Linked DNA regions of Homo sapiens: all the other regions are linked to region 1. Evidence: promoter capture Hi-C in 16 types of primary human blood cells and fetal thymus (Javierre and others, 2016). All regions are on one chromosome and are shown on one strand. The core of a region is centred on a gene start or on the middle of the fragment in contact, and the rest is flanking DNA. Distances in the headings are between cores, read along the strand shown. Region 1 holds the start of ZNF621 (zinc finger protein 621). Region 2 overlaps ULK4 (unc-51 like kinase 4). Region 3 overlaps ULK4 (unc-51 like kinase 4). Region 4 overlaps ULK4 (unc-51 like kinase 4).

Region 1 (4,141 bases), core at 678-3,177:
ACCCTCATGAGAGATCCCAAGCCAGTACCATCCAGCCAAGCCACTCCCGAATTCCTCATCCACAGAACCTTTTTTTTTTTTCCTTTTTCTCTTTTTAGGACTGACTGACTATGTTCACTGATTCATAGAAACTTTAAGAGATAATAAGTGTGTTTTGTTTTCAGCCATAAGGTTTTAGGGTGATTTGTTATGCAGCAGTAGATACCTAAGATACTCTCCATAATAGGACTTCATAAGTCAGTCTAATTCTTAAGAAAGGAATAACAAATCCAAGAAGTGGGACCCCTGTAATAAAGCAATATATCTAGATATCCAGGATCATTTTTTATCTTTTAGTGGTGGGAGACCAATTCCCCTTTATAGCATGGAAATGCTTGGTGGTGAGGAGCCTGGTATCTGGAACTGTGTTCAGGAGAAGTTATCAGCGTGATTAAAGTAAAACAAAGTCTGGGCCGGGCGCGGTGGCTCACGCCTGTAATCCCCAGCACTTTGGGAGGCCGAGGTGCACGGATCACAAGGTCAGGAGATCGACACCATCCTGGCTAACACGGTGAAAACCCGTCTCTACTAAAAATACAAAAAATTAGCTGGGCGTGGTGGCGGGGTGCCTGTAGTCCCAGCTACTCGGGAGGCTGAGGAAGGAGAATGGCGTGAACCCAGAAGGCAGAGCTTGCAGTGAGCCGAGATTGCGCCATTGCACTCCAGCCTGGGCGACAGAGCGAGACTCCGTCTCAAAAAAACAAACAAACAAAAAACAAGCAAAAAAAAAAAAAACAAAGTCTGTCCATCTTAGCAACCACTTTGATACTGGAGAAAGGCTCCTGTCCAGAAGGAAGGGCACAGTAGTGAGGTACTTGCCAATGAGCTGGGTAGAGCTGCCACTGGCTGGCTTCGGGAAGTGTTTATCACTGACTGGCTCATGTTCAGAAGCTTGGAGTGAGGCTGTTGTGTACTGGTTGATTTTCAGAGTACGTGTACTGATCTAAAATTATGTAAATTAATGGCAAGTACTTGTTAGTGACTTGGGACTTTGGTCAAAAAACAGTCTTTTCCTTTCCTGAATATGAAAAGTAAGTTCTTTTAATTAGCAGCCTCCCCTCTTCACTGTTTTTTCTTCCTGCAGTCCAACTAACAGAACAGACCATAAAGGTCTGTCCAGATCATTATTTATGGAAGTATGAGATATATATATTTCAGCTGGTGTTAACATTTTATTTAAGTGCCAGTTACTGAGCAGAAAAATAGCTGTAACTACGAGTTTTTGTAATTTATTGGAAAAAGCTAAATATAAGACATTTAGGGTGTCCTCCCAAAGTCAACACAGGACAAGATCATTTAATATAGGACATGTCCTGTGTATACAGGATGCCTAGCAACTGTATGTAGCCACGGGTGTTTTGGTTGTTAAATGAATCTGTCCTAAAAGGTTCTACGCACATCTAGGTCCTTGGAAGGGAGAGGGCTAAAACGGCGAGTGGAAACCATGGTTTCCCTGAGGACTGCCCAGCTGAGGACCCAAGCAAGATCCTGGGCTTGGGCCTCTTAGAGATGACAAAGCAGGCGCCATTCTCCCCTCACCTGCACGGCCCAGGCTTCAGGTGAGCCACGGGGCCAAGGCGGCCAACAGCTGAGGCGCAGCCCGTGAACTGGGGGCCCACTTGTGCCTAGAGGGCGAGGTCTCGGTAGAGCCAGGCTGTATCAGTCCGTGACACTCCAGCCAGAGGCGATGCCGACGGCTGCCGGAGAAAGCCGGGCTTAGAGCGCCACAGTTCCACGCCCGCCGCCGGCCTCTCAGCCCAGCCGGTCGCCGCAACCTCGCCTCTTCCGCAGGGCGGGGCCAGCCATGAAAGGCGGGGCGGGTCTGGCCACGGGGCGACCGAGATGGCGGCCTCCGGGGGCCTAGAGGGACCCTGGGCGTGCACTCGCCCTTCCGGCTCGGCCTTTAGTTAGTGACCAGCTCCTCGGCGTTCTGCAGAGCGTGGGTTTCAGCGAGTTCTACGTGCCAGGTCCGCCCGGTGCCGGCTTCCTCGCTGCCCCTGGCGGCTCGTCAGCCCCCACTACCCCTGAACTTGGTCCCAATGGCGGCCCGCCCCTCCTTCACCCGGACCGTGGGCATCTGGGCCTCGCCGAAGCCGTCAAGGTGGCTGCTCGGGCTTCTAGAGCCCGTGTCCAGCCCTTTGCCACCGAGGCCTGATCCTCTTTTCTGCCCTAAAGAACTTGCCCTGACAGCCTCTGGCTCCCGGTACTGACGTTTCTGATGTTTGGGGTTGCCTGTTTTCTTGGGTGGAGTGTTAAGATCACGGTTGGGTGGGGTCTCCGGTCAGCATCACCCACTGGGACGCTGAGTATTTTACCCTTAATCCGCATTCAGCCACCCCAGTCCCTCTTCTCCTGAGGTTCTTTCTTTTGGGTCCACGTCATCGTCCCTGTAAGCATTCTGTAAAGACTCTTTACGTTTGTAGAGACCCAACACAATAGGGACAGGGCTCTTGGGTCCCTCAGTTTACCCGTACGAATGGGCTCAAAAAAAGCTCTTCGGACTGAGCAGGCAGGTGGAAGATTGTCCTGAAGACTAGGCAGAACAATTCATAAGAAGTTTGGGGCTATCAGCGTGAGAACAATTAGAGGGAGTCCTAGTAGAATCTCCGTGCATCCAGTGCTGGAAATGTGGAAACTGGGAGGGCCATAGGTTGCTGTAGGTGGTGGACGACAGGGTCCTTAGCACTCATGGCTCTTTTTCTCTTAGCTCTTGAGGATCTTGCTTGTCCAAACCCAGAAGACAGTGCATGAAGCCAGGGGACATCCGCCATGCTCCAAACAACTTGGCCTCAGGTGAGCTGAGCTTCTTTCAGTTTTTTTGTTTGTTTGTTTATGTTTTTTTACTCACATTAGCTATCAGATAATCAGGAAAGGATGAGGAAGGCCTAACTTGGCCAAGCTGTGTTTTCCCCTTTGTATCTATCTCCAGGGCTATGGCAGATGTAAATATGTGCTGGGGAAATGAAAGTTTTGTGTATAGAGAGTGATGAGTTTGGATGTATAGATTTAAATGGAAGAAAGGGGACCTATACCAAGAAATTCTTTCTGAATGTGGAAATCCAGATCGTGTTCTAGAAATGAAAGTCACCTACTGAAATCAGACTCATTTTTTGTGAGACGGAGTCTCACTCTGTCGCCCAAGCTGGAGTGTAGTGGCACTATGATATCGGCTCACTGCAGCCTCTGCCTCCTGGGTTCAAGTGATTCCCATACCTCAGCCTCCTAAGTAGCTGGGATTACAGATGTGCGCCGCCACGTGTGGCTAATTTTTGTATTTTTAGTAGAGACGGGGTTTACACCACGTTGGCCAGGCTGGTCTTGAACTCCTGAGCTCAGGTGATCCACCCGCTTCGGCTTCCCAAAGTGCTGGGATTATAGGCATGAGCCACCGCACTAGCTTGAAATCAGAAATTCTTTATTGGAGAGATTGCCCACAAATTGTATTGTATGTATCCCAGAGAGACTAGTATTGTTGCTTTAATATACATTTTCTAAATGCTAGATGCAAGGACTCTGAAGTTGCAGAGAAAGCTGGATGTACTCTAGAAACTGGAAGGGGTCAGAGAAAGTGGTTCAATATGAGATGGAAGAAATAGATACCTGTATTATAGGTCATGGTGAGGACAGTGGTTTCTGTACTGGTTCATTGGGAAGGCACTGAAGAATTTTAAGCAGGGGGATGACATGGTTGGATTTACATATTAAAAAGATTTTCCTAGCCCTTAGTGGCAAATTGATGGTAGAAAGGTGTTGGTCAATTAAGAAGATATTAAGTGTTGTCCTTTTATTTTTTTTGTTTTTGAGACGGAGTTTCGCCTTTGTTGTCCAGGCTTGAGTGCAATGGCGCTATCTCGGCTCACCGCAACCTCCACCTCCCAGGTTCAGGCAATTCTCCTGCCTTAGCCTCCCAAGTAGCTGGGATTACAGGCATGCACCTGTTTTTTGTTTGTTTGTTTGTTTTTTTGAGATGGAGTCTCACTGCAACACCCAGGCTAGAGTGCAATGGTGCGATCTTCGCTCACTGCAACCTCCACTTCCCTTGTTCAAGTGATTCTCCTGCCTCAGCCTCCCGAGTAGATGGAATTACAGGTGCCCGCCACCA
Region 2 (4,141 bases), core at 739-3,238, 1.4 Mb after region 1:
CTCAAAAACTAAGTCTTAACAAACCTCTAAGCCTTCTCTTCACTGAACAATCCCAATAAGGATCACCAGCTTAACAAACTCAAACACTTGTCTTCAACTATTTTGGGGGAGTTTTTTGAGATAGAGTCTTGCTCTGTCACCCAGGGTGGAGTGCAGTGGCACCATCATGGTTCACTCCAGCCTCTACCTCCCAGGCTCAAGTGATCCTCTCACCCCAGCCTCCAGAGTAGGTGGGACTACAGGCATGCACTACCATGCCTGACTAATTTTTGTTTATTTTTTATAGAGATGGGGTCTCACTATGCTGCCTAAGTTAGTCTCCAACTCCTGGGCTCCAGTGATCCACCTGCCTTGGATCTCCTAAAGTGCTGCAATTACAATTACAAGTGTGAGCCACTATGCTCAGCTCCAACTATTTTTTTTTTTTTTTTTTTGGAGAATGAGTTTCACTCTTCTTGCCCAGGCTGGAGTGCAATGGAGCGATCTCAGTTCACTGCAACCTCTGCCTCCCAGGTATATGCGATTCTCCTGTCTCAGCCTCCCAAGTAGCTCGGATTACAGGCATGTGCCACCATGCCTGGCTAATTTTTTTGTATTTAGTAGAGACAGGGTTTCACCATGATAGTCAGGCTGGTCGTGAACTCTTGACCTCAGGTGATCCACCCACCTCAGCCTCCCAAAGTGCTAGGATTACAGGTGTGTGCCACCATGCCCGGCCCCAGCTTAACTATTAATTATACCTTATTCTTTTAAGTATTCCTAACTTGAACAACTAAGAATATTTGCAATCCCTCTTTTAAGATTTTTAACAGAAATAAGAAGCATTATAATATGACACTGTCCAATACCACTAATCTCATAATGTTTTGTCTTTTTAAATTAGTTATATACCATATCCAGGTCATCAGTCTATGGTTAAAAGTAGTAGTAATGGCCACACATTGTGGCTCATACTTGAAATCCCAGCACTTTGAGAGGCCAAGGCAGGCGGATCACTCGAGGCCAGGAGTTCAAGACAAGCTAGGCTACATACCAAGACCTTGTCTCCACCAAAAAATTAAAAAATTAGCCATTCCCAGTGGTGTGCCCCTATAGTCCCGGCTACTTGGGAGGTTGACTGCACCACTGCACTCCAGCCTGAGTGACACAGCAGCACAGCAGAACCCTGTCTCTCAAATATATATATATGTATATATAGCAATAATTTTTGTAGAATCCTGTTTTCATTTATGTGTCTTAAGATAAACTTTAACAATGTATAGCAAAATGTTTTACTACACTTGTGCCTTCTTTTGTTTTCCTTTCCTTAAAAATTATTGCTGATAGATCATTATATTAACCACAATTTATATGATTAAAGTTCCAACACTTTAAAAATAATACAACTGTATCTAATTTTAAAGATTTTTAGGCCGGGCGCAGTGGCTCACGCCTGTAATCCCAGCACTTTGGGAGGCTGAGGTGGGTGGATCATGACATCAGGAGTTTGAGACCAGCCTGGCCAAGATGGTGAAACCCCGTCTCTAATAAAAAACAAAAAACAAAAAATTAGCCGGGTGCCGTGGTGGGCACCTGTAGTCCCAGCTACTCGGGAGGCTGAGGCAGGAGAACTGCTTGAACCCGGGAGGCGGAGGTTGCAGTGAGCCGAGAACACGCCACTGCACTCCAGCCTGGGCAACAGAGCAAGACTCTGTCTCAAAAATAAATAAATAAATAAATAAATAAATAAATAAATAAATAAATAAAGATTTTTAAAACTTATAAGGGTAGCATTCTGATTCATCAAGATAAGGAAATGGTGAATTTGTTCCAACAGGAGATAGAAATAACCACATGGGATACGACTACAAAGTAAGTAAATGGTACATACAAAAAGCAATGTCACATAAGGGTTTAAGTTTTTTAAGTCTTTAAGCCATACTTTTTATGATATAGATGCACAAAATAGTTTTTAAATGAGGGAAATCTATTAGTACTTTGTTTTCTGTTTCAGCATCTTTAAAAAATGGCAAAAGAAATACTAACATTTCTAAAAATATCAACTTGGGATCATTTATAAAAGATAACTTTGGGGAGTTATGAATCAATAAAAGCAAACGTTGGATAAAGGTACACCTTTAATCAGTGTAAAATGTAAATTAATTCCATTTATCATAAGAAATCTTACCTTTCGGAATAGGTGGCAAAGGATCTTCACATAAGATCTTTTCAGTTAATTCTGAAATACTTTCTGAGAAGAATGGAGGTTTTCCTGAAATCACATGAAAACTTGCAAAATGAAAGAAGTCTGCTATCACCAATAATTCTTTTTTTTTTTTTTTTTTTTTTTTGAGATGGAGTCTTGCTCTGTCACCCAGGCTGGAGTGCAGTGGCGCAATCTCGGCTCACTGCACACTCCGCCTCCTGGGTTCAGGCCACTCTCCTGCTTCAGCCTCCCCAGCAGCTGGGACCACAGGCGCACGCTGCCACGCCCAGCTAATTTTTTGTATTTTTAGTAGAGATGGGGTTTCACCGTGTTAGCCAGGATGGTCTCAATCTCCTGACCTCGTGATCCGCCCGCCTCGATCTCCCAAAGTGCTGGGATTACAGGCGTGAGCCACCACACCTGGCCTTGCTATCACCAATAATTCTAATCTCAACTACAGATATTTCAAGATTATACAACTTATAGAAAAAATATATAGCAATAGCTATTTAATGCCTAGTATGTACGAGGCACTGCCTATATATTTCTCTTACTTCAAAATGTATTATCATCCTAACAAATACACAAACACACATATGGACCACTACTATGAACCAATGGGTGCATGGGCCATTCAAATCATCTGAATAATACACAATTGCAAGGCATCTTTACAAAAATTTCTAATAATCACAATTTTTGAGTTAGGCACATTTCAGCATTCCAGATTATCATGAAAAATTACCTATTTATCAAGAACTTTCTAGGAATCTGCATATGCCTAGATACCAAGCAACTCAGCCAAAATCAGTATACATAAAAATTTATAAGGTCACAGTTTTTTTGGCCAGGCACAGTGGCTCATGCCTATAATCCCAGAGCTTTGGGAGGCCTAAGCAGGCAGATCACTTGAGGTCAGGCATTCAAGACCAGCCTGGCCAACATGGTGAGACCCGCTCTCTACTAAAAATAGAAAAAACTGCCAGGCATGGTGGTGGGCACCTGTAAGCCCAGCTACTCGGGAAGCTGAGACACAGGAATGGCTTGAACCCAGGAGGCAGAGGTTGTAGTGAGCCGAGATCGTGCCACTGCACTCCAGACTGGGTGACAGTACGAGACTCTGTCTCAAAATAAAAAAAAATCTAGTTTTTTCACATCTTATAGGTAAAACATCTGCAAAGTACAGACTTAACCTGGTTTTTAGTCCAGCTCTGATTTTATACCTATTCAGGAAACAATTACCTGAAAACATTTCATAAAGCAGACAGCCCAAAGACCAGAGGTCACTGGAGATGGAAAAGTCAGCACCCCTCACAACTTCTGGTGCTGTATATACAGGAGATCCTAAAAGCAAAGTATGAAGAACAGCTCGGTTAGGCATTTGTATTGCTGCCAACACGAACCCACCTAGGAAAGATCTGATGAGATGAAAAAGGGCAGGAGAAAAACATGCGCATGAATAAAACTTCATGTGCATTTCACATTTTTAAATGTTTTCTAATTTTAAGGTTACATTTTGCAAAGGATGTGTGTGAATATAAAAAAGTGTTTAAAATCTACCTGAGAGGTATGGCACATTCAGCTACATTCTTCTTTTAAATTTCAATTAGAATAGTTTAAGTTAAACCTTCAATATAACAACCCCAACATCCCACTGGCTTAACAGCAAAGGTTTATCTATCACTAAACATGTCCACAACAAATCTACCAAGAAGCTCTGATCCTCATAGTCACTCAAAGACCCAGGCTGATAGAGGCTCCAACTCCACTCATGCTTCCTCACTTGGAGGCAGGGAGAAAGAATGTAGCTAACTGAACACTGGCTCCTAAAATTCCCATCTCAAAGTTACTCACATCACTTCCGCTCACACTTAGTTGGCTTTGACCAGGGAGAGGATGCAATCCTACCATCTATCCAGGAGAATAGGAAATATTTAGTGAAAAGCCCCATTGTGT
Region 3 (4,141 bases), core at 991-3,490, 1.4 Mb after region 1:
AAAGTATTAAATACTCAACCATTACCTAAAAATCCTACTTTTTATTACCAGATTTTACTTTGGGAGAGTAACATTAGAAGATGTATAGTAAGAACTACCCTTATTATTAAGCATTTTCTAAACTTCTATTGGTTCACCCATATTTCACCAACATAGAAGAATAATTATTATCATACCAGTGCCACAATCCACAAAATCCTTTCGCCTCCATTTTTTCATGTGCCTGTCCTAACAATCATGAGATAAGCAAGCTTGATGATAATAACTACAACTTCTACAACCCCAACCCCATTGTAAATGAAATACCCACTAAGAATCAGGCACTATACAAGGTATCTCATATATTTACCTCATTCAAAGTTGAATAATTACCAAAAATCTATGAAGCAGTTATCCCATCCCAATTTTACAGATGAGGAAACTGAGGCTCAGCAATTAAAGTACTTGGCCCAGAAAGCTGATCTTTGATCCACACCCAGGTCTGTCTGAATCCTAAACCTATGCCATTTCCTTGTCCCACCCACAGTCCCCAGGAAGCAGAGATTGAGAAAAAGATAATCATTTGGCCAAGTCTTATTGGCAAACAGAACCCAGAGCCTTCTAACACTTGATCTACTGTGCTCTCCACCTGGTATGTTGCTTCTGTAAAAAGCAAGGACACTTCCTTCCATCGGGAGTTTATAAATCATAATCCCATTAGATTGTAAATAACATCTAGGGAAGCTATGTGCTACATGAGGGAAAGATAAGGGTGGCCAAGGGAAACTTCGAGGAAGTATAACTAAATTAATACACAGGGATCAGGGTTTAAGTATTTTATAATCAATACTCAAAACAGTAACAGTTAGCCAGGCACAGTGGCTCACACCTGTAATCCTAACACTTTGGGAGTCAGAGATGGGAGAATCACTTGAGCCCAGGAGTTCAAAACCAGCCTGTGCAACATAGTGAGAGACCTTGTCTCTAAGAAAATAAAAAAACAATAACAGTTAATAAAGTTTCCAGGAGTACCTTAGATAATCCCAGAATTGTATTTGTAATATTAGGAGAAGGGCTATTTTTAATATTCTAAAATTTATCATTGGAATGCCCATAAAAATTGCCTATGAGTAGAGTCATCATTACATCAGAATAATTTATGATAATTATTTAGGACTCTGCTTTTGATAAATATGTGCTCTGTAACTACTTAATAAAGTCATGAAAAATAATTTTTAAAATATAAACGTTACTTACATATCCCAGTTTGGAGCTATCCGCAAATGCTGGATTAGCAATTGGAACTAGAATAAGAAATTTAAGTGTAAAGAAAAGAAAAAATTAAAATGTTTAAGTCACAAAACACAGAAAATGACAGCAAAGTTAACAGCTCAGGACTTTATACAAAGGAAATTTACACTGTACACCAAAAATGGTATTTACTAAATTACAAAGGCACTAGTATACGAATAAGATTAAAATAAAAACTAAGAACAGTATTTTTAGTTTCTCCTACCACTTTATATTCGCTAAATGACTGCCCTTACCTGATAGACACACACCAACTATCAAAAAAAGTAACCTTAATACTATCCTGGAAGCAAATGAACTTAAATTTTTTCAAGCCAATTCCCAAATGAGGGACCACTATAGAAAACACCTCCGAACCACTGTAATTCCTCTCTGAGGATGACTTCAAAAACTCTGCCAATCGATGCTTAAACATGAGCCAAAAGAAACAAAAACCAAAAAAACTCTGACAAATTCCCTTGAGCTTACCAACAGACCAAGACAGTCCAAAAAGTAATATTCCCAGGGGAAGAGGAAAAAAATGTCTTAGAGGATTGATGTCTTCCTTCAATGTCACATCAGAAACCCTGCAGTTTACCAGATGACCCAGTAAAGGAACCGACACCCCCGACCCATTCCACATGGGGAGTTCATTCCAGTCACTAATGAGAAGGTAAAAGGTCTGTCTTATGATATCACTTTTTTTTTATTTTTATTTTTTGAGATGGAGTTTCACTTTTTTTGCCCAGGCTGGAGTGCTGTGGTGCGATCTCAGCTCACTGCAACCTCTGCCTCCCGGGTTCAAGTGATTCTCCTGCCTCAGCCTCCCAAGTAGCTGGGATTACAGGAGTGCACTGCCACACCCAGCTAATTTTGTACTTTTAGTAGAGACAGGGTTTCACCATGTTGGCCAGGCTGGTTTCGAACTCCTGACCTCAGGTGATCCACCCACCTTGGCCTCCCAAAGTGCTGGGATTACAGGCATGAGCCACTACGCCCAGCCTGATTTCAGATTTTTTTTTAAATCTTACAAGTTAACATAAAATGGAAACCTGAGTATTACAAACAAACAAACAAAATAAGTTCAAAATCACCATCTACTGTCATCTACTTTAGGACCTAAGGATTAAGCAGAGGATAATTTTCATAAACCTAAAATCGTGATAAATCAGTTTTTTTGTGGTAGTTAAATCAAATTGTTATTTTAGCACTTGTTTGAGCCTCTATAAAAACACAAATTAAAATGCATAAGGCATGTCACACAGGCTTACCAGGGGGGAATGGAGGAGCCTGGTGGCCACCTCCTGGTGACCAGCCACCACGCACAAATAGCAAAGGAGATTCAGCTTGGCTCGGGAGGCCCCCATGCTCTTCTCAGTGGAGTCGATCTGCGAGCACACTTGTTGCAAAAAGTCATTCCAATCTTGATCTTTCAGAAATAATAACTTATCCACTGCGATGGAAAGAAAATAATAAAAGTACATATGATGAGAAAAAGAACTGCTGGAAACATTACATAAGAAATAAACACAGAATTACGACAGCTAAGATGAGGACAAACATTACACTGTCAAAACCAAAAATACTCCAAAGATGACACTATTTTTATTCGTCCTTCTATATTCCTAATCTCTTTATCTATCCACGGAAACTTTTTAACCACTTCAATGGAAAACTATACTTTCAAATAAAGCAGATGTCTAAAGCAGAACTGTCCCACAACCTACACTATAACAAAATGCAAAGTTCAATACAACTGGAGTAAAAGACAAAAGAGCCTTTGTATAAATAAATCAACTCTCAAATATTGAGAAAAGCACAAATCCTACAGTTCTTAAAAAGTTCCAATAAAATTATTGTAAAAAAAATAACGAGAATAACATGATAGCTAAAAATCACCTGAAATTCCTACCTCCAAATCCCTATACAAAAAAAAGGCAAAATCTAGGAAATGTGATACCCCCTAAAATTAACATATTTTTGGCTGATCTCTATCTTTAGACAAAATAAATTGTAAATATAATCTCCTAAATAACTCAAAGAAGAAAAGGGAAATAGTATTTCCAGGTGATAATTCTCTAGGTTTGCGTAAATAGTCCTACTTGGCACTGAAAGCACTATTAATAATACTTTGCTTCACTTGGCCTTTCAAAAACGTCCTTCTACACAGTTTCTTTTTTGTTTTTATCAGTAATTAAGTTGACCAATATAAACCCTTAGCTGGTTTATTTAAACCTAAATATATTTTAAATTTACTTCAAATCATAGATTCTACTCTAGCCACGATGAATAATTTTCCCCAAATCGAGTTTAACAGCTTAAAATATAATTTGTTAAACGAAAAAACCAATTTAAGGTATGTAAAAATTTCTGATGGTCACCCTAAATAAGACTTTCATTAGCTCAACAGAAATGTAATAATTATCCCTTAAGTATCTCCACTCCCACACCACCTCCACAGTCATGAACCACCTAGTCCCATTCTCAAATGTCCTGGTCCCTCTAATAGAATCCCAATCCTTCATTGTTGTCCCCAACCCTGTGCACCTATACCAGCCATAAATGGTGGAAATTCAACCAGCTCTAAGGGAAGGGAGGAGAAGACCTCCCACCCACTCTACAGGAAAACTTGCCCAGATCTACAGGAACCTCCCCACCCACAATAGGACTGGGCAGCCCAGACTCAGCTAAGAAATGTCAACAGCTGGCACAAATGAATTACAGATTGTTTACAATTCGTGTAACACTGCCCCAAGAATATAGCCAATTGTCAAGACAAAATAAATTTAGTTATTCACATATATTCTATTTGCAAATAAATTTCATATTTGTATCTGTATACAAAGAGTCTACATGTTCGATAAGTCCTTTA
Region 4 (4,141 bases), core at 677-3,176, 1.4 Mb after region 1:
TGTGATAGCTCACGCTGGTAATCCCAACACTTTGGGAGGCTGAGGTTAATGGATCACTTGAGCCCAGGAGTTTAAGACCAGCCTGGCACCTGGTACACAGCAAGCATTCAATAAAGCTTGGCTAAAATGATTTTTTAAAAATTAAAAAGGCCAGCCTGGGCAACATAGGGAGACTACGTCTCTACAAAAAATAAAAAATAAAAAAATAGCTGGCCATGGTGGCATGCACCTCTAGTACTAGCTAGTTAGGAGGCTGAGGTGGGAAGATGGCTTAAGCCCAAGGTAGTGAGCTATGATTGTGCCACTGTAGTCCAGCCTGAACAACACAATGAGACTGCATCTCAAAAATAAAAATAGTAATAATCTGTTGAAAATAAAGAGAAAATGCAATGGCAATTAATGACAATTAATACAATGATTAACATTTCCTGAATGTTTTTTTTTAGAAAAATGTTAAAACAGCAGTTATAATCTATATAAGTTTTAATATTATGCTCTTATTGCATACATCACATGAGAGCTAAAGTGGCACTGCAAAGGAAAAGATGTACCTTTACAATGGAGCTCTCTGGCAGCACTACTTTAATCAAATGATCAAAGTAGGTGCAACTATTAAAACCTGACACTGCATGCTTCCTGATGAGTTCAAATATGAAGTACCCAGTATCACCTATGATATGTTCTTACCAAAAAAAAAAAAAAAAGGTTCAACCTAAATCTAATGAAGCGTCCAGACCTAACCTACAGTTTATAGGAAATGTGTGGACTAGAGGAATAAGTTAGCAATACCAAAAAAAGCAAGCAGACAAATCTGGAATGTGGAATATTCAACAGGACAAACAGCCTGGACTCTCCAAGAATCAATGTAATGTGGCAAGAAAAAATAGAGGAACAATTCTAGAAAAAAACATGAGGAAAGAGACTCCAACAGTGAATTATAGAGAGCACCAAGTTGTTTCTTATAATGATGCAAAGGTGATTTATTTTTAGGAATTCCATTAATATAATCCACCTATTAATAGAGATAGGAAGAAAAATTAAATACTCCTATCTTCTGATGCCATACCAAACTCAATAACCATTAATGTTAAAAACAAAGAGGAAACTGGTAAATACTTATTTAACATGATTTTATGCCAACACCAAGTATTCATGAGAATACAGAGCACTGAACATTCTTTCATTAGTCAAAGCATTTTAACTTATACAACCTTACTGGAAAACAGTTTAGATTACCCCCTAAAGTTGAACACACACATATCCTGTAACCTACCAATTCCATTCCTACACATATCCAACAGAGAGCTTGCGCAAGTGCATCAAAATGTGTGTGCAAGGCTTTTAATAGCCAAATACAGAAAACAATCCAAATGCCCATCACCAGTGATGTAGTATACTCATGTAATAAAAATGAACTACAGGTACAGGCAACAAGGATGAATTCCATAAACATAATATGAAATAAAAGAAGCCAGATACCAAAGTATACATATCATATGACTCAATTTAAACAAAATTCAAAAGCCGGCAAAATCATGACAGAATTGGAAGTTACGGTAACTTCCTTTGGCACAAAGGGAGAGAACAGTGATCAGGAGAGAGCACAAGAGGATCCCCGGGTATGCTGGCAATGTTCTACTTAATGTTCTGTTTCTTGACCCAGTGACAGTTTATTGGGTTTTCACACTTGGCAATAATTCATTAAGCAATACATTTATGTTTTGTATGTATTTCCAACACTTCAATAAAAAAGAATTATAATTTTCAAACCAGAAAGAAAGTACAAAGTAATCTCTAAATATCTAAAAAAAATTGAAAACATATGTAACTATATATCATATTGGTGACAAAAGTACAAAGTGAAGAATTATATAAATTGCTTTTAAAACTCAGCGTTTTGACTGTACATATCATCCAGTGGGTTATATCCCAAGGGAAAAAAAGTACTTAAAATGCACTTTGTAGTTTTGTTGTTAGTAACAATACGTGTACTATTTTTAAACTATTCTAAACTCTAAGCTAAAAAAAAAGATAATTATGTTAATGTTATTAATGGCCAAGAGTGTTTTTTTTTGAGACAGAGTCTTGCTCTGTTGCCTAGGCTGGAGCGCAGTGGTCCGATCCCAGCAGCCTCCGCCTCCTGGGTTCAAGCAATTCTCATGCCCCAGCCTCCCAAGGAGCCAGGATTACAGGCGTGCATCACTATGCTCGGCTAATTTTTGTATTTTTAGTAGAGATGGGGTTTTGCCATGTTGGCCAAGCTGGTCTCGAACGCCTGAACTCAAGTGATCCACCCACCTCAGCTCCCAAAGTGCTGGTATTACAGGCATGAGCCACCGCCCCAGCCAGGAATTTTAGCTTATGAGAAGAAAAATAAAAATTGTAAATCAAAAGGTAAAAACGAATTTTAAATCTGAATTGGAGCCAGGCGTGGTGGCTCACCGCTATAATCCCAGAACTTTGGGAGGCCAAGGTGGGTGGATCACCTGAGGTCAGGAGTTTGAGACCAGCCTGGCCAACATGGTGAAACCCCATCTCTACTAAAAATACAAAATTAGTCGGGCATGATGGTGCATGCCTGTAATCTCAGCTACTCAAGAGGCTAAGGCAGGAGAATCGCTTGAACCCGGGAGGCAGAGGTTGCGGTGAGCCGAGATCGCGCCGTCGCACTCCAGCCTGGGCAACAAGAGCAAAACTCTGTCTCAATAAAAAAATCTGAATTGGAAAAGCAGAATAAACTGTGAATTTTTCTCTTTTTAAGAAACAATAGTACCTAGATCTAACCTCTGAAAAGCTCTACCAGGAAAAAAAAAAAAAAAAAAAAACCTAGAGAACCCAGATTGAGTTCTCTAACTACATCTTCTAACAAAGTAAACAAGATTCCTTATAGAAGTGGTTTCAAAACTAGGGGTTGACTATTCCCGAAACAAGCCTATGAAAGCTCACTGCCGAGAAGCCAGCAAGCTGTCAGAGACAGGAGTAGGCTCATGTCAAAGGGAGAAAGGAGCAAACTTGAAAGAGCTCCCACTGGATGGAGATGAAACAATGTAAGCATCAAAAAGACTAATGACTGCAAAGGACTAGACGATATACATATACATATATACACCTGTAAGTTCTTAACAATATAAAATCAATCTCACTAGACACGGAGATTTCTCAGGTACCAACTCTTTATTCTGAAAACTGACCTATGAAGAGGAACAATCAAGCATTTATCCTGCCTTGCAAAACAAACTCTATTTTAAGGATAACCAAATAGTTGATCAGGGAAAGATCTTCTGTAAGAAAACTTCCAACTACAAATAGAAAGGAAATTACAGAATAAGAAAATTATCATTTTGCAACTCTAAAGGATTACTACATGTAGACAATAATCGATTGATGTTAAAACTGTTAAAAAAAAAAAAAAAAAAAAAGAGTGAGGAGTTCCTGACTCACAGATAAGGGTATGAAGAAAAAAAAAGAGTGATGGGAATATTTATAATAAGGCTGACAACATCTGAGTCTAGTGATCAACTTTAACCCCTCTAATAGAGGCATATAATGTTTAATTGTCTCACTTCCTATGAAGCAGTAGGAGAAATACAGCACCAACTGTGACAAATTCCTATTTCCCCAAGCCATCCCCCCAAAAAAAAGTACTGAATCAAGGGTCCACATCTAAGCAGCCATGCGCAAGAAAGGAAAGGCAGGTGATAAAGGACTATATTAAATAACACCAAAAGGGTGCAGTAAAGCTTCTGGTATTCCAATTTGGGCCAAGACAAGGGACAATTTGTCTGTAACAAATAAATGACACTAAAAAATAAGAGACCAGGAATTAAGAGACTTAAGGGTCACAATATCTAAACGCAATCCTGGCTCAAAGAAAAATTACAAAATGACATGTATGAAACCACCAAGAAAATCTGAACACTAACTGGGTATTAGATGATATTCAGAGACTACTGCTGAATGTATTGGGTGTGATAATGAAATCATGGTTATACATTTTTCTAATCCTTTTCTGCTAGCAAAAGATATTTACTAGTAAAATGATATCATTTTATTTAAAATACTCCAGCAAGAAAGAGAGAGGGAGAGAAAAAGGGAGAGGGGGAATGAAAGCAGGACACAAGATGAAACAAGATTAGCCAGT

The links. The method cuts DNA at HindIII sites, captures the fragments that hold promoters and counts their contacts. A CHiCAGO score of 5 or more calls a contact.
Region 2: a contact is called between a fragment that was not itself captured here and the fragment with the promoter of ZNF621 in region 1, in 4 of 17 cell types (total CD4 T cells, total CD8 T cells, activated CD4 T cells and 1 more). The highest score is 7.6, in total CD4 T cells.
Region 3: a contact is called between a fragment that was not itself captured here and the fragment with the promoter of ZNF621 in region 1, in 3 of 17 cell types (total CD4 T cells, M0 macrophages and naive CD4 T cells). The highest score is 9.2, in total CD4 T cells.
Region 4: a contact is called between a fragment that was not itself captured here and the fragment with the promoter of ZNF621 in region 1, in 15 of 17 cell types (total CD4 T cells, total B cells, non-activated CD4 T cells and 12 more). The highest score is 12.5, in total CD4 T cells.

What each region holds. Positions count from the first base shown.
Region 1 is chr3:40,523,033-40,527,173 of GRCh38, forward strand. It overlaps ZNF621 (zinc finger protein 621), which reads left to right and starts at 1,928. Exons shown (of 5, transcript NM_198484.5): 1 at 1,928-2,242; 2 at 2,747-2,832. The coding sequence starts at 2,809. RefSeq lists enhancers at 1,530-1,619, 1,898-2,710, 2,270-2,409 and a silencer at 1,810-1,969. The HindIII fragment of the contact is 8,303 bases long and covers 929-4,141 here.
Region 2 is chr3:41,916,290-41,920,430 of GRCh38, forward strand. It overlaps ULK4 (unc-51 like kinase 4), which reads right to left. Exons shown (of 37, transcript NM_017886.4): 6 at 3,428-3,529; 7 at 2,168-2,251. Among named protein-coding and RNA genes, the nearest start is that of ULK4, 44 kb to the right of the region's middle. The HindIII fragment of the contact is 4,490 bases long and covers 1-4,141 here.
Region 3 is chr3:41,894,282-41,898,422 of GRCh38, forward strand. ULK4 (unc-51 like kinase 4) reads right to left here. Exons shown (of 37, transcript NM_017886.4): 15 at 2,541-2,722; 16 at 1,237-1,283. Among named protein-coding and RNA genes, the nearest start is that of ULK4, 66 kb to the right of the region's middle. The HindIII fragment of the contact is 3,983 bases long and covers 250-4,141 here.
Region 4 is chr3:41,875,278-41,879,418 of GRCh38, forward strand. The region is part of intron 17 of ULK4 (unc-51 like kinase 4); the gene reads right to left. Among named protein-coding and RNA genes, the nearest start is that of ULK4, 85 kb to the right of the region's middle. The HindIII fragment of the contact is 3,624 bases long and covers 115-3,738 here.